Regions from separate parts of the Homo sapiens genome. Here regions 1, 2, 3, 4 and 5 are each linked to region 6. The links are contacts of gene promoters, found by promoter capture Hi-C in blood cells and fetal thymus (Javierre and others, 2016). All regions are on one chromosome and are shown on one strand. Each heading gives the region's core, a stretch centred on a gene start or on the middle of the fragment in contact. The rest is flanking DNA. Distances are from core to core; before and after follow the strand shown.

Region 1 (3,555 bases), core at 1,023-3,522, 180 kb after region 6:
TCTCTCTTTGCTTGCTGCCATCCACATAAGATGTGACTTGCTCCTCCTTCCTTCAACCATGATTGTGAGGCCTCCCCAGGCACGTGGAACTGTTAAGTCCAATAAACCTGTTTCTTTTGTAAATTGCCCAGTCTCTGGTATGTCTTTATCAGCAGTGTGAAAATGTACTAACACAGAGTAGTAACTGCCAAGCAACTGATTACTGTAAAAGTCAGGATGGTGGTTTATCTCTAAGAAGAGAGAGGTGGTATGTGACAGACAAGAGCCACAAGGCGAGCTTTGAGGAAGGGGCATTGTCTATTTTCTCTTTCCCTAATTGGATGGTGGCTACACAGGTGTTTCCTTTAGAATTTTTCTTTTTGTGCATTTCTGTTTTCTGTCTTTCTTGTATATGTTTTCATTTTGGAATTTTAAAAGTTGGAAACAACAGGAAGTGTAAGTGGTAGTCTCTGGCCTTAGTTTGCTCCTGAAACTCAATTTGGAGCTATTGATAAATGCTGAATTAATGTCCAGAAAATACATTTAATTCAGTAGTTTAATACTATTATGAGACATTATTACTATATCAGAATAAGGGTATTTCTTCTTTTCTTTTTTTCTTTTCTTTTTTTTGAAATGGAGTCCCACTCTGTCACCCAGGCTGGAGTACAGTGGCACAATCTCAGCTCACTGCAATCTCTGCCTCCCGGGTTCAAGGAATTCTCTGCCTCAGCCTCCCGAGTAGCTGGGATTACAGGCACCCACCACCACGCCCAGCTAATTTTTGTATTTTTAGTAGAGACGGGGTTTCACCATCTTGGCCAGGCTGGTCTTGAACTCCTGACCTTATGATCCACCTGCCTCGGCCTCCCAAAGGGCTGGGATTACAGGCGTGAGCCACCGTGCCCAGCCACTTCTTTTCACTTACTCAGAAAGCAACTCAAGCTTGACAGATATGGAGTGAGCTATCTGTAGAGAAGAAACAAAAGAACAATCATTTTTAGTTGGGGGGCAGAACAAGCATGTGGCAAAGTACTACATAAAGATGGCTAGTGTAGGCAGAATAATGATGTCCCAAAGATGTCCACATTCAGACCGGGCGCGGTGGCTCATACCTGTAATCTCAGCACTTTGGGAGGCCGAGGCGGGTGGATCATGAGGTCGGGATATCAAGACAATCCTGACTAACAGGGTGAAACCCCACCTCTACTAAAAAAAAAAAAAATTAGTAGGGCGTGGTAGCACACGCCTGTAGTCCCAGCTACTCAGGAGGCTGAGGCAGGAGAATTGCTTGAACCCAGGAGGCAGAGGTTGCAGTGAGCCGAGATCACACCACTGCACTCCAGCCTGGTGACAGAGCAAGACTCCATCTCAAAAAAAAAAAAATGAAGATGTCCACATTCTATTCCCTAGAACCTGTGAATATGTTACGGCACATAACAAATGGGAATAAAGGTTATAGGCAGAATTAAAGTTGCTCAACTGACCCAGAGATGGGGAAATTATCCCGGATTATCTGGGTGGGCCCAATGTAATCACACAGGCCTTTATAAATGGAAGAGGAAGGCAGAAGACACTGGAGTGACTGGGTATGAGAATAACTCAATCTGCCATTGCTGGCTTTGAAAGTGAATGGAGGCCATGAACCAGGGAATGTGGACCACCTCTAGAAGCTAGGAAAGGCAAGCAAACAGATTCTTTCCTATAGACCCCTAGATATTCCTCTAGGGGCCTGACTTTAGCCCAGTGAGACCCACGTCAGACTGCTGACCTACAGAACTATAAAATAATACATTTGTATTGTGTTTTTAAAAAATTTTAAATAACCTTTTTATTTTAGAATAACTTTAGGTTTACAGAAAAGTTGCAAAAGATAGTACAGAGAGTTCCAAGTTTCCCCTAATGCTAGTACCTAATGCCTTTTAAAATAGAAAGAAAGAAAAAAGAAAGAAAGAAATCCAAAAAAACAAAAAACAAAACTCTAGAGCAGTTTTAGGTTTACAGAAAAATAAAGCAGAAAGTACGATTTCCCATATACCCACTGCCCCACACATACAAATCTGTGTGTTTGAGCCACTAAGTTTGTGGTAATTTGTTATAGCAATTAAAAACAAAACAAAACACTAATACAACGCCAAATGGCACTTTGGAGTACAGGGAAAGAGAGGTAGGTAATTTAGAGATGCATATATACATGGTAAAACACTAAAGAAAAATAATAATCCAAAATTCAATATAATTGTTACTTATAGTGGAGGGTACAGAACTTATAGGTGTGACCCCGCACCCCTAGGACACAGTACACTAGCCTATAAGAGGCCTCTATGTGAACTAGAAAAAAGAATTGTTTTCTGAGCAGATAATTAGAAAAATGACATATCCACTGGGTAGGAACCAGCCTATGGACCCTCAGCCTAGCACCAGGTGGTGTCTTTGTACCCAAGGAAAAAGCTCCATTTTTTAGGAGGCAAATCCCTCTCCCCTTGGTAAGGCACCTTTTTGCAGTGGCCAAATTGTACCAGCATGCTGGCCGACCCCTAGGACCTTCAGAGCTTTTGTAACATTCTAATTCTCAAGCCAAGTAGAAGGTATATAGGGTTTGTTTTTCATAATTATTTTGCAAATTGTATATATGCATTACATGCTCTTTCTCATATATTCACAATATTTTTAAAAGTATTCAGCAATGTGATGAAATATAGCATCATTGTACCCCATGCAGACCTTTGCCACTACCTCAATGTCAGTCTCCTTCTGACTACAATCTAAAAATCAGAGAATTCTGAAGGACATTAGAGTGATACATTTCTTTTTTTTTTTTTTTTTTTTTAAGGCGAAGTCACTCCTTTGCTCAGGCTGGAGTGCAGTGGTGAGATCTTGGCTCACTGCAACCTCCTCCTCCCAGGTTCAAGTGATTCTCGTGCCTCAGCCACCCGACTAGCTGGAGTTACAGGCGTGCGCCACCGCGCCCAGCTAATTTTTGTATTTTTAGTAGAGACGGGATTTTACCACATTGGCCAGGCTGGTCTCGAACTCCTGGCCTTAAGCAATCTGCCTGCCTGGGCCTCCCAAAGTGCTGGGATTACAGGCGTGAGCCACTGTGCCTGGCTTCAGAGTGATACATTTCTTGTTTTGTTTTTGTTTTTGTTTTTTCCTCAAGATAGAGTTTTGCGCTGTTGTTGCCCAGGCTGGAATACAATGGCGTGATCTCGGCTCACTACAACCTCTGCCTCCCGGGTTCAAGCGATTCTCCTGCCTCAGCCTCCTGAGTAGCTGGGACTACAGGCGTGTGCTACCACGCCCTACTAATTTTTTTTTTTTAGTAGAGGTGGGGTTTCACCCTGTTGGTCAGGCTGGTCTTGAACTGCTGACCTCAGATGATCCACCCACCTCTTCCTCCCAAAGTGCTGGGATGACAGGCGTGAGCCACCGTGCCCGGCCTAGAGTGATACATTTCTTAACTCCATGAAACCTCTTTTCATTTGGAGTAAGTTACCAAGCAAAACAGGATTTTCCATCTGTCAGCCTCCATTCCTATCTTCAATAAGTAGTTCTGTCTGTTTTCTCACTCGGATA
Region 2 (3,965 bases), core at 627-3,126, 230 kb before region 6:
GTGGACGTTAGCGGGGTCACCCCAAAATCTGGATTTATGGTATCCCTGGTACTTCCACATGGCTTATCGCCCAGGGTGTGTGGATGATCTGAGATGCCAGTTTACAGAGCTACATACATGGGGATGCTGCTCCTGGTCACCAACAGGTATGAGTATTCAAGAAAAGTCTAACAAGCATCTTCCCACAGAAACACAGTCATAAGTTCTGTTTCCCAAATGCCCCACTCGGGGCTATCTTGTGGGTATGTGAAGCCGCACAGGGCATCATCTGTAATCTCAGTGCCCTCAGATTGGGAATGGGGGGTGCTAAATCTTATATCAAAACAAACTTGAATATACTTTGAAAAAGAGTTCAGAATTTGGACGTATGTTTTAAAGTATTACTCAAAAGCATTTCTGAATGCCTAGAATGTAGGGTGCACTTATGCACTGCAGTATAGAAAAAAATTGAAAAACTCCTGTGAGATGTTTATTACAAAAGTTATTAAACTGATGATGTTCTGGAAACTAGTGCTAGCAGTCCTATTTCCACAAGTAAGGTAGTAGCTACCACTGCTAGGTACCATGTGAAATGTGTTGTCATTTACTTGTCACCACAACTGTGAGGTAGATATCATCATCCACATTGACAGATAGCAAAGTAAAGCTCAGAGAACACATGTAAGTGGCCCAAGGTCACACAGCTAAGAGTGTAGGCAGAGACTGAAACCCAAGTCTACCTGACAGAGGGTGAGGCCAGCCACCCCCCCCAACTCCTGCTCTAGAGACAGGATCCAAGCAAACACAGCTTGCTGCATCTATGTTTGTCAAAACACAGGTCGCTTTCCATTAGTAGGTCATGAAATCAATTTAATGGATTATGACCAGCACATATATTTTTAAAAGCACAGAAAATATGATAAGAATATTATTTCATGAAATATTGGTTTTGGCTATACACACTTACATGTGTCTTCTGGATAGCAATTTAAATGCATTTTGTATTGCAAGGGCATGGTCAAACACAATGAAAACTACTGCTCTGGTTAGGTTAATAGAACTGCAGTACTTAATTATGGTATCACTGCTGTGTCTTTGGTCACATGTTATTAATAAATAAAAAATTAAAGTACCAGTTACCTATAGTTTACATATTTTAATAAACATGTACAAATTCATAGCTGTCCCCACAATGATGTCACTCTCACTCAACGGCATTCCAATATGCTTTCTTGAGTGGAGAGAAAGGGTGGAAGTCACAACCAGCAAATTCATTTGATCATTACCTGTAGCTTGTCTTATTTACCCAGTGGTTCTCAAACTTGAGCATACATCAGAATCACCTAGAGGACTTGTGAAAACACAAGCTGCTGGGCCCTATCCCCAGAGTGTGATTCAGTGGATCTGGAGTGGAGCCCAGAGGCTGCCTTTCTAACAAGTTCCCAGGTGCTGCTGCTGCTGCCACTCTAGGGTTCATACTTTGAGAACCACCTTTTTAATCCATGCTCTGTATGGATTTCCTGATGATATGCCATGAACAACTTTTGCCATTATGAATTATCATAGTGCTTTTTACTTCCCCATGATGTATTTTTGGGGAGAGAAGTGCCCATCAAAATCTGTGTGAACTCGCAAAGGCACATCCCTCAAGTGAACACTTCCCACCATACGGGAGGCAAAACCAGAGCTCACCACCATTACTACAGATCAACCATTTATTCCCCAATATTCCAGAACAGGCTCACCCACTGCCATGTGGGTGGTCACTGGTCATCAGACTTAGTCCATAGCTGTCTGTCACCAAAAGTGGGTAACCAGTGTTCAAAAATTCAGAAATCAGTTCTGACTTCTAAAGCATTCCAAAGGAACCCAGGACACAAAACCCAGCCTCGAGCTGCTGCTGCTGCTGCTTCCAGACAGAAACTTGACTTTCCTGGGTGCCTCAGCTCAGAGGGTCCACTGCTCTGTGTCAAGAGTAGCCTTTTTCAGAGTAAACATGAATTCTACATTACTTCCCATTTGTAATTCTTTGCTTAGACAGGCATCCATGAACAGTTCAAGGGGGATGTTAATGAACACAGCCCCTTGGCAAACACCAGATAATGCCTAACCTACTCTTCAAGGGCAGAATGACATGTTCGTAAATATGCCCAGAACTTGCATTGTCTTTCCGGTTTTGAGTTGGTAAAGCTAAACTGAAGGAAAATACTGCAAGGATTTTCTTTGAAATCTGATTTCTGAAGCTGAGTGAGAATAAAAGCAGTTTTAAGTTTTCTTTCTGCAAGGACTTCAGGCACCCCACACCCTCCCACATGCTGTTCCCTGACTCGAAACCTTCCCATCTCTGAGCACTCTGCCTTAACACCTGCTTATCTTTCAGGTCTCAGTTTAAATGTTATTTCCTACAAATGGACTTCCCTGGCCTCCAGGTCAGAACTACATATCCGTCCTCTGAGATTTCACCTGCCCTGTGTGTTCTGCATTGTGCTGGACCATCAGTGTCTTGTCTTTTGCACCTCTAGACAGTGAGCCCTGCCCAGGCAGAAAACGTATCTGCCTCAGTCACCAAGATAACTCCATATACTTATGTTGCCAGGTAAAAGTGAGGGCTCAAGTGTTTATTTGGAATAAAGAATACATGAATAAAAAGTAAATAGCACATGCAAGGAGTTAAACAAACAATACAGAGTTTTTAAAAATGAAAAAAGAAACTAAACTAGAACGTCATTTTCTTTAGTTAAAATATGTTGGAACACCAGGTTAAAATTCTGGAGACAGTGAGGAAAAAGCAAGCAAAATAAAAAGAGAAAGTGAGAGCTTTTCCCATCTTTTGACTCAACCACCAAAAGAAAGTTTGCTTATACTTGGCATAAGCTATCCAGCTTCTTTTGTAAATTAAAAAAAAAAAAAGGCAAAGTTTTCAGGAACCCTCACCATGCCCCAGAAACTATCTCCCACCAGGGAAGTAGAGGGTACATGCATATTGGAGAAAATCTACCACTCATCTCTGAGAATTTTCACAGAAACAGTATTACAGAAATGCAAATTTTTTAATGTTAAAGTAAAGCCTGAGTAGAAATACAAAAATGATACACGACAGCTAGGTGCAGTGGCTCATGCCTGTAATCCCAGTACTTTAGGTGGCAGAGGCGGGTGGATCTCTTGAGTCCAGGAGCTCAAGACCAGCCTGGGCAACATGGTGAAACCCCGTCTCTACAAAAAATACAAAAAACTAGCTGGGTGTGGTGGTGAATGCCTGTAGTCCCAGCTACTTGGAAGGCTGAGGTGGCAGAATCACCTGAGCCCAGGAATTTGAGGCTGCAGTGAGTTGTGATTGCAGCACCACTGCACTCCAGTCTGGGCAACAGAGTGAGACCCTGTCTCAAAAAAAAAAAAAAAAATAGAATACAAGATAAGGTTTTCAAAACAAACTTGGCTTTGAGCTCATAAAACCACTGGTAAGAGATAACTTTAAACAAACAAAACTTGTACAACTATCTGGGAAAATGAATTATGAGGTTTTGTGGGATAGGACCATCAGTTTCAGAGGTAGCTCAAGGCAGCAGGAAGAGCAGGTATACATCTGCTTCTCTCATAGGCATAGGAAACTCAATTTTTTTGTTTTATTTTTAGTTGGCACATAATAGGTACACATATTTATGGGGTACAGTGTGATGTTTGGATACATGCATACATTGGGTGATGATCAAATCAGGGTAATCAGCATACCCACCATCTCAAACACTTATTATTTCTTTGTGGTGAGAACATTCAAAATCCTCTCTTCTAGCTATTTTGAAATATACAATACATTATTGTTAACTATAGTCACCCTACTGTGTAATAGAACTCCAGAAGGTATTCCTCCTCTCTAACTGTAACACAGTATCCATTGATCACCCCCATCTCCCCTCCCTCCTCCCTTCCCCAGCCTCTGATAACCACTATTCAGCTCTCTACTTCTACGAGTTTGTCTGTTTTAGATT
Region 3 (3,934 bases), core at 871-3,370, 250 kb before region 6:
AGACTCCCTTGAATATGGTATTTTTAAAAAAAAAAAAAAGGCTCATCTACCTGGAGCTACTGAAAAATATGTTTCTGAAGGGTGAGAAACAAAAGGAAGAGAGCTACAGGCATGAACTACGTTTGAGAGTGAATGATGCAAAGAACACAACATTTCATTATCATGGACAATAAAAAGCGATTCAAACTCTTGAAAAAAATATCTTATAAAAATATCTACGTTAAAATTTTAGCCTAAAAGCTATAGCTTCAATTTTATAAAAAGGCAATCTTTGAAAGGATCTGGCTCAGAAATATACAAACATTACACAACAGATATCAAAGTAAGACAGCTCAAAAAGCATCTTAGGGGATATTGCAACTGGCTTGTCGGGAACTAGAATTAAGTATTCTTATTGCATAGCAGAAAATGAGGTCAGTTTTATTTGCATAATACTGCAACTTTGTAGATGGAGAGATGCCATTGGGTACTTATGAGAAATAACTTTGGAATTCAGAATCTGACTTCTACATTGTTCAAATCAGTATCCAAGTGGCGTCTCGGCTGCTTCTAACCTTGGGCCTCAATTCCATTTCACCACCGCAATCAGATGACAGATATGCCACTGGCAAAGCTGCATTCACAAGCAGCCGTGGCCACCCTAAGTGGGGCAGTAAGAGGCTTCATCTACCACGTGACCAGCACAAACTAGAAAATAGCCTGCTGTGTCCACTGTGGAAAGAGAATCGTACCTGGTGATGAAGAGATAGCAGGTTTTGGTGGCATCTGTGGGCAGCTAGAGCAGATTGGCTTTGGTGATGACGTACCAGTGTTCTGGTCCCCGTGAAAAAGGATACATGAGGATGGAGTGCACATGGCCTTGGCAGCACGCCCAGTAGAGGCAGTGCTTTGTAGGGAGGGAGACATGAGGTGAAACCAATTGCAAAAATCCAAAAACAGAAAACATGACTGGCTAGCTTTCAGTGGAGGGACCCTTCCCCGGAAGACGACACATAAAAGTAGCCTCTCCCGCATGAAAGTCTAGCTTCTCAGTGGTGGGGGAGGGGCAGGGAATTCACCTATCATCTGAAATTGAGAGCTTCTGTGAATGGCATACATCAGATCCCAACCCCAGCCTCATCCCCATCACACAGACACACCGAAACAAGTCTCAAAATTTCCTCAGAGAAGGAGAAAGGACATTTCTCATTCCATCAGCTTCCAACCCACAGCCAGGTAGAGTTATGAAGCCACAGTCATCCCCACTTCATAGTGAGACCAGAGCACTCAACTAAAACATGCCTTGCTTCCTTTGGAGACATTTCTTCCAGGTCCCCCAAAGCTGGATATTTTAGCCTCTTCTGAAGGCTTCTAAAAATTCTGGGTACCTTGTTGTTCTCCAAGCATCTTGTTGAAGTAACATGTGCTTAACATCAGAAAGAGAAGTTTTGTCTTTAGGAGAGTTGCACATTTAGGGCACAATAAATATACAGTAAATACACAAAGTGGCTCACTGGCTGGGAAGACTTCGGGGTTTCTAACTGCAGGGGCTGGGGGATGCCAATCTCCTGCAGCACCTGCTTGGAAGTAGCCCAGTCGTATCAGAAGTCCAACATCAGGATTTATAAAGTTCCTTGGCTTCCTGTAGGTGGATTCTCAAAGTAGGGAGGGTGTCCCAGACTGCAAGGTATGAGACTATTCTCCAGACACAAGACTTCCCCTGCTTATGCCAGAAATTTCAGCATGAGCAATTTGCTAGTTTAGGAACAGCACAACTTTAAGGTTTTTTAAATACAAATTACTCCATGCCCCCTCAAATGCCCGCTCCTCAAGATGCTTGAAGTTCTATTGTTAATAATTTTTACCTGTGAATTAGCAAAGCTCTCACCAAGCTCCCTTTTTAAAATGCAAGCACATCTTAGGAAGCCTCAAATCCAAGGCCCACTGATATCTCCTACCTCACAGGGAAAGCAGTAGTGGGGTTCTTGGGGGTTGGGGAGAGGGTGCACACCCTGGAATAGGGGGAAAGCACAAGAAAAAGAAGACAAGGACATTAGACAGACTTGACCACTGTCACAAAGTGCCAAGGGCCAGCTCTAGTGGTATATTCCTTTGAAGCCATCCAATGTCCATCTGAATCACACACGACCCCATCCAACACAGGCACAAATCTATCTTTGGGTCTGGAGGAGGGTGACCTCTTATTTATCCTCCAGACCAGAACACTTCTGAGTAAAATGGGGTGCTGTGAATAATTAAACTGGGATAATAAGTATAAATGGGGACTGTCCTGTCCTGGGAAAACCTAAAAGTAGGACCCTCTCTGAGACCATTATAGGCAGGAACTGAATCCTTACCACTTTGGTTTTTTGTTTTTTTCCTGTTTTTGTTTTGTTTTGTTTTGTTTTTCAGTGTTACCCGAGGCTTCTCTGAAGAGCTAGTTTTCCCAGCTGAAGAGACATAACACCTCCCAGGCCTGGAATCTATGACATCAAAGACCAATGGCCTAAACCTGAAGACTGGGCAGTTCTCATCTGCTTCCTGTAGGAGAACTCAAGGAAAAACAGTGAGCTGAGAAGCACAGGGAACCCATTTGTCCCTTATTCTAGCACACAGAGGACACGGTGCAGCTTCGAGAATTTTCCAGCTCTTCTGCAGACAAAGTCACAGTAGTTAAAGTACATAAGTGGGTGTGGCCAGAGAACTGCCCCTCTCACTGGTTATTTCTGGACATTCCCAGACTGTCCAACTGGACCTTCAGAAGAAAGCAGCTTTAGTAGTCTCAGGGTCCCCATGGGACAAATCCAGAAGAGAGGTCTCTGTGACTTGATTTTTAACACAGCGAAAGGATCAGTAGTAAAGAAATCCAGTAGACTGTCACACACGCTCACCCCCCAACTTAGAGAAACATAGAGAAACACCATGGTCTACACACACACACACACACACACACACTCCAGGGTCTGTATTGTCCCTGTAGAAACACCAAAACAAAGCCCAAAGGTGCTGCCTGGGGATGTCAAGACCCCCCTTGCTCAGGGCATAGGCCAGAGCACCTCAGGGGAACGGGGGTGGGTAATGGTGTCCACACTGCGATGAACAACACCAGTCTGCCAAGTCAGAGGAGAGCGGTTCTCACAGCAGCACAGACCCTCCCAAGCAAGTTGAATCCAGTCACCAAGGTCCTGCTGTTCAGAGTCACAGGCAGCACCTGCTCCTTCCTCCACCTCCTGGCAGTAGGAGTTTGGGTCACAAGGACTTGTGAATCACGGCAACACCTAATAAGAAAGGGGGAGAAAGTTATCATCTTAGCTTCTCCAAAATTACTCAGAGTCCCAGTGAGTTCATGAATCCAAGATATCCTGAGTCACAGCCAAGGGAAATGTGTGCAATTTTTATCCTAATATTGAAGTGGACTCAGGCTGCTAGCAGCTGGCTGTTCCCCACTCCAACAGCCAAGTCCTGGCAAGACACTTGAACCTACGAGCACAGTCCCTCAAACACCACTGACTAGTGGCCTCACCCTGTGTCATCACATGGACTCACTGTGGTGACTCCCATCCCCAGCCCTAGCACCCAGCCCAACAATGCTCAGCGCCCAGGGGCAGCTATGCAGTTCTAAATTTGAATCACTGTAAGAGAAGCAATGGGTGATTCATCTCTACTTTTAGAAGACACTGGAATGAAGCGGAAAGTACAGCAGGCTGCCTTCATGGGAGCAAGAAAGACTGAATTCCATTCCTAGCTCTGCCACCAGTCAACCTGCACTATGGCCTTTGGCAAGTTCTTTGACCTCTTTAGGCTCAGTTCCCACACAAATGTCATCTAAGAGACCCTGCCAGTGTGACAATCTCGACTTTGATAAATGCTCCAGACATGTATGCTATGTTACTGTTTTAGTCCGAGTGAACCATGCTCAGCACCTAACTATAAATCCACGCATGACCCAAAATCT
Region 4 (3,835 bases), core at 621-3,120, 200 kb before region 6:
CCAGGAGGAAAAAAGGACTCCAATTTTTCTTAACCTAAGTACATTTTTTTTGTGCAAATATGTTAATGTGCTTTTCCCCTAAAACACTTGGCCCTGTTTTCTAATTATATACTTAAGTCAGGCTGGACATAACTTGAATTTGGCAAGGAAAGGAAAGGGAAGGGGAAAGGGGAAGGGAAAGGGAAAGGAAGGGAAGGGAGCAGAAAAGGAAAGGAGTAGTATGTATGTATAGTTTGCTCCTATTTCTATATCAAATAACCTATATGTGTACAAACATAAGCACATACACCATAGAAATCCCTGTCTAGTTCATTTTTTATTAGGAACTCTTATCGAGCTATGTCCCTCATCCTCACAGCATTGTTTGAACGACTATGTTTCTTCCACTAGCCCTTAAGATCCATGAGAGACCTTGTCTTATTTGCTGGCACATAACACAAACTCAAATATTTTTTAAGTGAATGAATGGAAAATGAGTTCAGAATAAGCATGGAAGGAGATGTGTGGAAGCTGCCCAGGCTGGAGCAGAGAGCAGGGCTGGGGAACAAGGGGTTGGAATCTTAGTGGGTAAGGCAGAGTCAAAGGCAGATAGTCTGCCTTTGCCAGGTTAGGTGATGGGCAGCCACAACCCCATTCTGCCTTGTATGTGGTTGGTTAGCCACACCTCTTTCTACTTCCCTTTATAGACTGTGAGCCTATGCAGAGTGAGAAGTGTACCAGCTCTGTCTCTGCACGCCATCTCCCAATGCTGCCTAGCACAACACAAGGTAACTGATTGGCAAAGCTTAGCTGAAGAATGAACTACAAGTCCTTAAGCGGGTAGCATTTATTGATCACATTCTTCCCCATCAACCAGCTTAATTTTTGTTATAAAAACAAAAAAGCAAGCTGAATCTACCAAAGTCGATATTTAACCTTATCTTTATTTTTGGCTTCACTTGTGTAACTAGTTCCACTTAGTCACACTGTTTATCTACTCAGCTATGAAAGCCACAGCATTCGGCAACAACAGTGACCTTCTCAGCAGCTAGAGAAGGCCACATATTTTTTTCATTCAGACTTCATGCTTGAAAAATAAACAAGCAAATAAACTTCCAACTTGCTTTAGCTTTCAATGTACCCAAAATGGTTCCCAATAACCCTTCCCACCAAGGGACTCTCCATAAACATCGCCTCCCCAAATTCTCAAGATAACCCAATGATTAAATACTCTTAAGCCTTATTAAATGACTTGCCCAAGTCCCAGAACTAAAAAGAAGCAGAGCCAGCTCTGCTTGGTTACATACAAAACCAACTTCAGTGCTTATGCTCTAAATCCATTATTCTTAGCTGACTCTCAAATGTCTAATAGGTCTAATAGCAGGGGGGTTGCAAACTGCTGCCCACAGGCCAAATCCAGCCTGCCACCTGTTTTGGTAAATAAAATTATGTTGGAAGGCAGCCACACTCATCGTTTACATATTGTCTATGGCTGCTTTCACATTACAGTAGCAGAGTTGAGAAGCCACGACAACATAAAGCCTAAAATATTTACTATCTGGCCCTTCCTAGAAAAAGTTTGTCAACCCCTGGTCTATAAAATCTAAGCAGAGACTATAGATTCAATCATAGGATAGGGTGATATCTACTTAGCTACTACTTTTTGTGATGAAATAATCAGCTGCTCATAGGTACACTTAGGGTTTCACTTTTTAAACAAAGAAATAGCCCCATTTCCTCACTGATTAATGTCCTAGAACCAATTTCTTGCATGCTACAAGACTGTCAAGTGGAAAGGAGTTGGAGAAAATCAGATTCCATAGCTCCCAGCTCACCACACTTCAGATGTAAGCACAGGTCTTGGCCAGAGAATACCAGATGAATCCAGACCTTCCACTCCAACACTCTGGACAGACAGGCAGCCAAGCTAGGCTGGACTTGCACACCCCAAGGAAAATGAGGAGTCCTGGGGTACTTTCCCTGCTTTCAAAATGTGTTTTGAAGATCAAGAAGCACTCCAGTTAAAAAGGCAGGGCACTGACTTGGCAAGGGGAGAAGTTCAATTGGGAGCAATTCTCAGCAAAACATAGGAAGAAGAGAAAGACGCTAATTTTGACAATATCAGGGAAAAAAAACTAGGTTCCTATACATGGACCTGAATTGTTACTCAATCTGAGAAGGACTAACTTTATTAATAACAACAAGCACAGTGCTAGGCATTTTACACATATGATCTCATTTAATCCACCAACAATCTCTGTGAAGTAGGTGTCACTGCTCACATTTTACAGATGAGGAAACAGCCTGAGAGAGGTTAGCAAGCTGTACAAGGTCACACTGCCAGGAAGAATAGATCTGATGTGAATTCACCTCTAACTCCAAAAACCCATGCTCAAACATTATGCAATTTGCATCTCAGAGACACAATTAATTTTAAAAACCTAGGCCAGGCAAGGTGGCTCACACCTGTAATCCCAGTACTGTGGGAGGCCGAGGAGGCCAAGGTGGGCGGATCACGAAGTCAAGAGATTGAGACCATCCTGGCCAACACAGCGAAACTCCATCTCTACTAAAAACACAAAAATTAGCTGGGCGTGGTGGCGCACACCTGTGGTCCCCAGCTACTCAGAAGGCTGAGGCAGGAAAATCGCTTGAACCCAGGAGGCGGACGTTGCAGTGAGCCGAGATTGCACCGCTGCACTCCAGCCTGGTGACAGAGAGAGACTCTGTCTCAAAACAAACAAACAAAAAAAACCCTGGGCAGACTGTTGAGTTGGGGAACTAACTTCCTAAACCTATAATCCTAATTACAATCCTCCACGCCCTCCTGGGACACCTCCCCTAGGTCTCCTATTCCTTTCCCAGGGATTGAGGCAATACCATTTACCAAATCTCCTGCCATGCTTTTAAATCAAGAAGATAGTGCTTCTAGACAAAAGAATGATTCTGTTGGATTCCTGTTTTTGTTTCTTAAATGAAAGCTTAACAAGACTTGTGTTAAGCATACTCTCACCTCATTGCCACACACAACTCCAGGGACAACTGGGAGCAGTGGTGTGCGGCAATTGGAGCTCACTGTGCACGTCTCTTCCTAACTCCACGTTTAGTGACATTACACTGGTAGTTGAAGTCAGCCTTGATGAAAATATTTACACCATGGAAATCAGCAAATGAATCAACAGATGAATCAGGGCTTTTAGAATGTTTTTTAGCGAGCCAGTTGTTAAACATTTACCAGCACACCACTGGCTGAGCGATGTCCTGGTCTGAAGTCTCCCTAGAAACCTACCCAGTTGAATTCTTCTTTCTGACCATACCATCACCATTTCACACAACACTTAAAAGCTCTTTCTTGTAGTTGCTTCATTTCAGATTCACAAGGACCCTGTGAAACTGCTAGTCATTTGCAAAAGGAGAAAGTAAGGCAGAGAGAGACGAAGTCATTTGCCTGACATTACCCAACAAATTAGTGAGAAGACAGCAATTAGAACCACTGATTTCAATCCACACTTTCACAGCACACTGCACATTTCATTCATACCACATCTCTCATTTTATAGCTATATATTTGTGCATATATTTGATAAAATATCTCTCCTCTATGTGAATATAAGTTCTGCAAAGGCAGGTATCTTGTTTTGATCTGTTTGCCAATGTCTCTCCTGTGACTAATACGCTACCTGCCACACAGAGAAATATTTCTTAATAGGATGAATAAATTAATAAAAGCATGAATGAATGTATGTATGGTTCTCTTCCTACAGCAGCACACTGCCAGATATCTGACTTCAGATAACCAAAAATGATGAAAAAATTAAAACGGTAACATCACTTGGCCTGGAAATTGTTCTTCAGC
Region 5 (3,898 bases), core at 1,257-3,756, 150 kb after region 6:
CTACTCCTTGTTCTTGTCTCCTCCCTTTCCTCTTCTTCACCCTGTTTCTTAGGCTAATAAAACCAATCACAAAAAGTAAATAGTACTAGAGGGATCCCGGAAGTTGCCTTTCCTATGACAAGATCATACAACCCCAAAAAGCAAATGAGAAAATAACAAATTAATCTCTAAAATACTATACTTACTGTTTACATGTCAAGATTTCTAAAAGGTAAAGACTAGGAAATTAACAACAAATGACCAATTGATAAGTATCAAATTATGTTACCTTGAGAAAGCTGCATCAAGTGAATATGTAAACTGCCAGGGATAACAGGTTCAGGAAGTTCTTGAAGAAAAAATCTAAGAAGGCTAATAGCTGAGGGAACATCTGCTTCCTTAACCAAATCCACCTCTTCTCCGCTGTCGTATCTCTGCCGAAGCCACTCCACTGTCTCAGCATTTCCATTGACTTGAAAAAGTCCTTGTTGCTCCAGACCTCCTACGTTAGTTCAAGGCAATCATTCAATAAGCTGCAATGTCAACTGCTTGACCATATATATTCATTCTCCAATTAACTTAAAATACTCATACTTTTGGAAAGCCTTTCTTGGCTCCCCTGACTTGTCTAAAAACCTTCAAATTATACATCTAGAAACATACTATCTCTGTTCTAAGGGATATTCTATTTTATCCCACCCCTTATATCCATTAAAAATATTCCTATCACCCCCACTAAAACTTGTTCTAGGCTGGGCAACTGTCATTTCTAAGTATATGAATTTAAGTAAAAATCACACTAAAACATTAAAAAGAATTTCTAGTTTTTCCTATGTTTTGGACTTTCCATATTAAAAAAAAAAATTAAAAATCCAAGGTCAAAAAGGTGTAAGTTGTGTTTATTAAAACAAAAGCTAGCCCTCAAAGTAAGGAAATGTATACCATGTTCCTCAATATAGTCCACAACGTGGCGGACTATGAATGGAACCTCATTGTCTGGATGTCCTCCCTGCTGCAGCTCATCAAGTGGAATTCCAAATATTTTGTTAGCAAGAACGGAGTTGCAGTTACTCAAGGAAGGGGAGGAGCTCTTCCTCATATCTTTTTTGCAGCCAGAAATCAAAGCTGTCTTTTCTGCCAAATGAAAGACAAAAAAAAAAGACTATAATGATTAACAGGTGGCAATATGACTAGATACATTAAAGAAAAATGCTTTACACCTGAATGTGTTCTCATCTATTTAAATGTTCCAGTTAGCAGGCCCATAGTGTGTTCTACAGATGAAGTTCAGTACAATTACCTAAACATATTCCCTATTACGAAGAGTTAGTGCTGAATGCTCCCTTTAGTGTTTGCATACTTATCAAACAATAGCAAAGTTAATCATCAAAGATTTAGCAAGAGGCATTAATGTCCCAAAGACAAATTAAGGAGCAAATTTGGCTCCAAGAAAACCTTTACTGAACAAGCTTATTAATGACACAGGTAAATCCAAACCCGTTCTGGACTGTGCCATATAAAGCTCATCTAACCCCTCAATTCATAAGCCCAAACAGGAGAGAATCCTTTTTAGAAAGTGCAGATCTAATAACCACTTTTTATAAATGATGGGCTAATAAGAACAAGATTAATGAGTTCTTATTTCTACATGATAAAGCAGCTGTAATAAATTTTTTTTTTTTTTTGAGACGGAGTCTCGCTCTGTTGCCCAGGCTGCAGTGCAGTGGCATGATCTCGGCTCACTGCAAGCTCTGCCTCCTAGGTTCATGCCATTCTCCTGCCTCAGCCTCCCAAGTAGCTGGGACTACAGGTGCCTGCCACCACGCCCGGCTAATTTTTTTGTATTTTTAGTAGAGATGGGGTTTCACCGTGTTAGCCAGGATGGTCTCCATCTCCTGACCTCGTGATCTGCCCGTCTCGGCCCCCAAAGTGCTGGGATTACAGGCGTTAGCCACCGCACCCGGCCTGTAATACATTTTTATAAAAAAGAAATTTTTCATTTCTGGACATCAACTTTCAATAAGAGATGTCCTTTTATCAACACTGTTATTTCTTTTTATTTTTTGAGACAGAGTTTCGCTCTTTTTGCCCAGGCTGGAGTGCAATGGTGCAATCTTGGCTCACTGCAACATTCACCGCCTGGGTTCAGGCGGTTCTCCTGCCTCAGCCTCCCATGTAGCTGGGATTACAGGTGTGCGCCACCACGCCCGGCTAATTTTGTATTTTTAGTAGAGACGGGGTTTCACCATGTTGGCCAGGCTGGTCTTGAACTCCTGACCTCATGTGATCAGCCAGCCTCAGCCTCCAAAGCGCTGGGATTATAGGCACAAGCCGTTGTGCCTGTCCTTAACACTGTTATTTCATAATTATCCAAAAGAAAAATTTTCAGAGCCATCTAGTTCAGAAGAAATAGTTATTTGTCCTAATTTTGTAGGAATTGTGATCAGTAAAGAAGTGGGAGAAAACAATGTCTCAGATGGCCATTTCCAATATCTGACACATCAGAGAACAAGTAATCCTAAGAAAAATTTATTTTCTAAAATAAACACATTACACATTTATTACTTTACGTAGGAAAAGAGTATTTGTAAAAGAAAGAAAAACTCAAAGGTTGATAATGAACAAAATGACACCAGCTGGTATTTTTTCCATCACCCTAGAAAAACAATTTCTTTCTCACTGCAAGAGAAAAAAAGCAAATCACAAAAATAAGTCTACTAAAATTCCTAAGTTTACAAAAATAAGGTCCACTGGATCAAGTGTATACCCACTGGATCAAGAATGTCACAACATGACTAGGAAACAATGCAGCCAACTTAAAAGAAAAAATTAACTTAAGGATAGCAAAATGCCATACATTTACATAGTCTCAGACAAGCAACATCCATTCTTCAATGTATCTGGTGCCAGCTAAGAACTATAAAACCTCAAGTTAAATCAAATAGCAGCTACAGGGGCAAGTTCCAAAATCTCTATGGATTTATAGAGCACGAGATAGTTACCATTTTGAAAACTTACCTTTCAGTACTTAAATACCTAAGTTTAAAAAATGGCTTCTGCACCAGCTACCCTCACTGAGCAAGCATTCTTTTGTCATTTATGGCTGTTTGAGATTATGGCAGAAGATCAGCCTGTAGTTCCTCATTGAAGAAATGCAGAACTCGATCAGTACTTCAGCAGTTAATCTACAAGACAAAAACAATTATTTCAATTTCCCACATCTTTAACTGTCAGAAGAGACTATTAATAGAAGCAGCAGTACAGTCCTCTTAAGAGGTTACCTATATTGAAAGGTATTCTTCTGTCTGAAAAATCTATCTGTAACCTAAAGGCAAAACCTTGCAACGGTTTCAGATGATGATGGAAAATTGGAGAAGAATCTTCCTGCTGAAGATAAATAAATAAACGAATTGCAAAGGAGGATATGTGACAGGACACATCTTCAAGGACTACACCATTCAAATAATCCATTTTCCTCAATTATGTGTGGACACCCTACCCCATCCCATTCCTTCCTCATTTCCTCACATACTCAGAACTAAACATGGAAGTATTTTCAAAAGATCAAAGAATCAAAGATATGATTTAAGCTTGCTACTATACTTAAGTACTTTCTTCTTTTTTTTGTATACAACATAGTGGTTGCCTGAGCTCCCTAATTTAGAGAAGCGATAGCATATGTTGGAAAAGAGCAAAAAGAACAGTCCCAGAAAGATTTAGATTCAATTAATAACTCCGTCATTTTGTAGACACATGATGGTGAACAACTTCCATGTCTCTGAGCCTAGGTTTCTTTATATAAAACAAGAAACTACCTGTACAGGCCAGGTGCATTGGCTCATGGCTATAATCCCAGCACTATGAGAGGCCAAGGTGGGAGGATCACTTGAGCCCAGGAGTTTGAGACCAGCCTGGGCAA
Region 6 (3,573 bases), core at 417-2,916:
TGGTTTATGCCTATAATTCCAGTGCTTTGAGAAGCCGACGTGGAGGATCGCTTGAGGCAAGGAGTTTGAGACCAGCTTGGGCAACATAGCGAAACTCTGTCTGTCCAAAAAATTTTAAAATTAGCTGGGTATAGTGCTGCATGCCTATAGCCCTAGCTACTTGAAAGTCTGCAGAGGAAGGATCTCTTGAGCCCAGGAGTTTGAGGCTGCAGTGAGTTCTGATCATATCACTGCACTCCAGCCTGGGTGACAGAGTAAGACCCTGTCTCTAAAAAAAAACTAATAATAAAATAAAATGCTTGAAGGAGTGTCTTACTCATAATAAATGCTATATATTGGCTATTATTACTTTTATCCTATCACTTGCATTTGTATTTTAAGTCTCTCTAATTTAGATGGAAAGGTTTTGTCTGTATTACTGGAATTTGAAATATCAGTGAACAGATGTTGAAGAATATTTTGGGAGACTCCTGAAATAAGACTTTGTAGGCAACCACCTACTCACCAAGTCTAGCATGCTTTTTCTACTAAGGGCTGCACGCCCAGGCAGAAATTATCAAGCTTTCTTTGAACACCAAAGAAAGGTACACCTACTTGGCCAGCTGTGAAGGATTTTATATGGCTCATATGTGCTCAAACATCTATTTGCTGGATTCTAATATACATGTTAATTCAATCAAGATTGGGGTATCTACCCATGAGGGAGGGGAACTGAAGCCACCCCATGGAGATAATTCTACTCCCTTGGCCCAATCCTCATGCCACCTACCCTACTTCACCACATTTGCTGATTCGACATTTTATTCTTCTGCAATTATTTACTTCCCTGCACAAAAATGGAAATCTAAATACCATGATGGTCTCTGTGACAAAAAGTGAAAGGAAACTAACTGTTAGGAATAAAGGGAGATGAACATGCATTGACAGCTCTAATTATATAGATTGCTTATTTGTTTGGTTGTTTCTTAAGTGTTTCAAAACTCTTTCAGAATAAAAGTACTAGGCAAAAGGGGCATATGCCATACAGATTCAGAAAACTTGCTCAAGAAACACCATCATGTTTTTCCACCTCCCTACCTTCCCAGTGACATGTCACTATGACCTCGGTCTCCTGCTTTGCCCAGACTGCCCTCCACCTCGGAACAAACTGCTAGTACTGAGAGACCTCAAATCTATTATTGAATCCTACTCTCATTAGGCAAAAGAAAAAAGACTTCAGATGAAGAATTATGCAATACAAATCAATTGGGAGCCCATCTATCACTGGTCTTATTCCTGGAGAAGTCTTAGTATAATAGATAGAAGAACTCCACTCTTGAAATATTATTTTCCCTTTAGTCCTCTCTCTTAAACTGGGAAAATTCAAAGTCCCCACCATAATAAAGAAATAAGAGGGTTTTTTTTCTATTTTTCCCATTTCCCTATTCACTGCCCTTCCCTCACATGAGCTTGCTAAAGTTCATAGTCAAAATTCACGTCTGAAATAAAGAGGCTTGCAAAAGAAGCTCATGTAATCCCACTCCTTAAATACCACTAAGACACGTGAGATATTGTTTAGATTGTGGACTCTTACTTTGACATGCCAGCATAGGTAGATGGACAGGCAAGCACATCAGATGTCACTGTTTGGCAGCTGATAAAAGTCAGTGGTGCTATAATACTAAGCACAGAGCCACTAGATTAGTCTGTGAGGGAAGGAGATGCCTCTTCCTTCCCTTCAATAGTGGGTTAAACCCAGCTGGCACCCTCTGGAACTACGGGTAAGTCCCTTCTTTATTCCTACTACACTTTTAGGTCTTGTTTTTGTTTTTTGTCCAAATCAGATGAGTGTATACAAAGATGATTTTCAGATAAAAAGTTTGAAAGCCACAACATTATAATGGTATTACACAAAAATTTAAAGAGAAAGCGACTCATTCATTTCATTGAGACTGGAAGGCATTATACAAATGATAGAAGGAAAGATAGCTGTGTGTCATTATTTTTAAATCACCATTTTTCCTTGAAAAGGGACACTTGATCTGATGTAATTGTGGTGATGTCTTATGAACGCAACATATCCTCTATCAGTCTTCTGTGCAAGTCTATGCTATATTAGAGACAGGAAAAAAATGTTAAGATTTTTTAAAAAGGAGACTGAATAGTACTTTATTTATAAAAATCTTTGAAATTCATTTAACATTATTTGGAATAAAATGACCCTGTCATATAACAGAATCTATTATAGAATTAAATTGTTGAACAGTAACTACAAACATAAAGAAAATACAGGATCACCTGCGTAAATGTCTGCATAAAATTTTGACACATGGATAAAATGAAACTTATGAAATAACATATTTTTAATTGGGCTTTTAAAAATATCACTAATTATTAACAATGTAGGCCAATATCAACATGTACAAGACAGTTGCCATTCTGAAAATATATGTAAAGAAAAAAAGAGAACTGTTTCTGGAAAATATCTACTATTTCATAAGCGGTTTATTCCTTGCTATCTGAAATGAGTCTCAATAATGTACCTGCCCAGAAAGAAATTTAGGAATCAAACTCTGGATTCAATTCTGCAACAGACTGAATAAACCGATAACTACAAAACTACTTGCCTTGAAATAGACTTTTTTTTTAGATCTACTCAAGGCCCTCCTTCAGGATGTTTTTCCCCAACAATTTAAATGCCTAAAGTAGTTCATTTCTAAAATGCATTCTAGTTTAATGTATTTGTGTTCATAAACTTGAAATTAAGGAATATTTAACTTTTTAAGTATTCTTTCTCAATAGCGTCTTTCTCTTGGCTGTTTAGTTGCATTTCTGTTTTTTCCTAAAATTGCTAGTTTTAATTTAACTCTAAACTACATAGGCAACTTTGAAATACTATTTTTTGAAGGTATCCTATTATTTAGGATGAAACTCTTTGGTCTGGAAAAGTTTTATTAACATTTTATCCAAGACAGTAACTAAAATAATTAGAAGACTTCGTTTCAATGATGACAAACAATTTGGTTAATTTTTCAGTTAAAAGTTTGATTTGTCATTATCTCAGTATTGGCTTATACCAGATGAAACAAAATAGGCAAATGTATTTTGAATCAATTTATCTGATATTTTCAATGAAAACAGGATTAGTGTGAAAACAATTTATAGGACTAGTCTTTGTGTGTAATGTCTATATATAGTCCCGCTTAGGTTTACCATACTAATGGAAAAAAAATCAGAGACAAATATAATCCTTCAAGGTTGATTTTCATGGCAAATGTTTCATCTGAGAAAAAATGAGGATGTACTGTAGGAAGGCAGGAGGCCCACTACAGAGCTAAGTAGGAGGAATGGCACCTGTCTTTTCTTGGTAAGGTATAGACTAGTTTCATATGTGTCTTATTTACTTCTATGCTTCCTGTTTGCCATTTGAAAAGAAAAAGTAAAAGAGCTAAAGCAATTTCAAAATTAGTCTGAGATCTCCAAAGGTGTGGCAAAAAAAAGAAAAAAAAGACCAAAAAACAAAATTAGTCTAAAATACATACTAAACAAATAATAAAAAGTAAAACTCTAGATAATTAAAAGAACATCAAGACC

What was found. Contacts are between HindIII fragments. The CHiCAGO score rates a contact against its expected background, and 5 or more counts as called.
Region 1: a fragment that was not itself captured here is called in contact with the fragment with the promoter of MYOT in region 6 in 1 of 17 cell types (naive B cells); the score reaches 6.0 in naive B cells.
Region 2: a fragment that was not itself captured here is called in contact with the fragment with the promoter of MYOT in region 6 in 1 of 17 cell types (total CD4 T cells); the score reaches 5.2 in total CD4 T cells.
Region 3: a fragment that was not itself captured here is called in contact with the fragment with the promoter of MYOT in region 6 in 1 of 17 cell types (total CD4 T cells); the score reaches 6.1 in total CD4 T cells.
Region 4: a contact is called between a fragment that was not itself captured here and the fragment with the promoter of MYOT in region 6, in 2 of 17 cell types (M2 macrophages and M1 macrophages). The highest score is 5.5, in M2 macrophages.
Region 5: a contact is called between a fragment that was not itself captured here and the fragment with the promoter of MYOT in region 6, in 1 of 17 cell types (naive B cells). The highest score is 5.2, in naive B cells.

Annotation. Positions count from the first base shown.
Region 1 is chr5:138,046,153-138,049,707 of GRCh38, forward strand. It overlaps a transcript of FAM13B not described here. Among named protein-coding and RNA genes, the nearest start is that of FAM13B, 15 kb to the left of the region's middle. The HindIII fragment of the contact is 2,700 bases long and covers 923-3,555 here.
Region 2 is chr5:137,639,992-137,643,956 of GRCh38, forward strand. All of the region lies in intron 8 of KLHL3 (kelch like family member 3), which reads right to left. Among named protein-coding and RNA genes, the nearest start is that of MIR874, 5.7 kb to the right of the region's middle. The HindIII fragment of the contact is 6,724 bases long and covers 1-3,965 here.
Region 3 is chr5:137,618,870-137,622,803 of GRCh38, forward strand. It overlaps KLHL3 (kelch like family member 3), which reads right to left. Exons shown (of 15, transcript NM_017415.3): 15 at 1-3,257. The coding sequence ends at 3,229. Among named protein-coding and RNA genes, the nearest start is that of MIR874, 27 kb to the right of the region's middle. The HindIII fragment of the contact is 4,842 bases long and covers 1-3,934 here.
Region 4 is chr5:137,665,698-137,669,532 of GRCh38, forward strand. All of the region lies in intron 6 of KLHL3 (kelch like family member 3), which reads right to left. Among named protein-coding and RNA genes, the nearest start is that of MIR874, 20 kb to the left of the region's middle. The HindIII fragment of the contact is 2,176 bases long and covers 783-2,958 here.
Region 5 is chr5:138,018,034-138,021,931 of GRCh38, forward strand. It overlaps FAM13B (family with sequence similarity 13 member B), which reads right to left. Exons shown (of 24, transcript NM_001385994.1): 2 at 2,998-3,164; 3 at 922-1,113; 4 at 269-481. The coding sequence starts at 1,078. Among named protein-coding and RNA genes, the nearest start is that of FAM13B-AS1, 13 kb to the right of the region's middle. The HindIII fragment of the contact is 2,121 bases long and covers 1,447-3,567 here.
Region 6 is chr5:137,866,194-137,869,766 of GRCh38, forward strand. It overlaps MYOT (myotilin), which reads left to right and starts at 1,667. Exons shown (of 10, transcript NM_006790.3): 1 at 1,667-1,760. The region is part of intron 2 of PKD2L2-DT (PKD2L2 divergent transcript); the gene reads right to left. The HindIII fragment of the contact is 5,979 bases long and covers 560-3,573 here.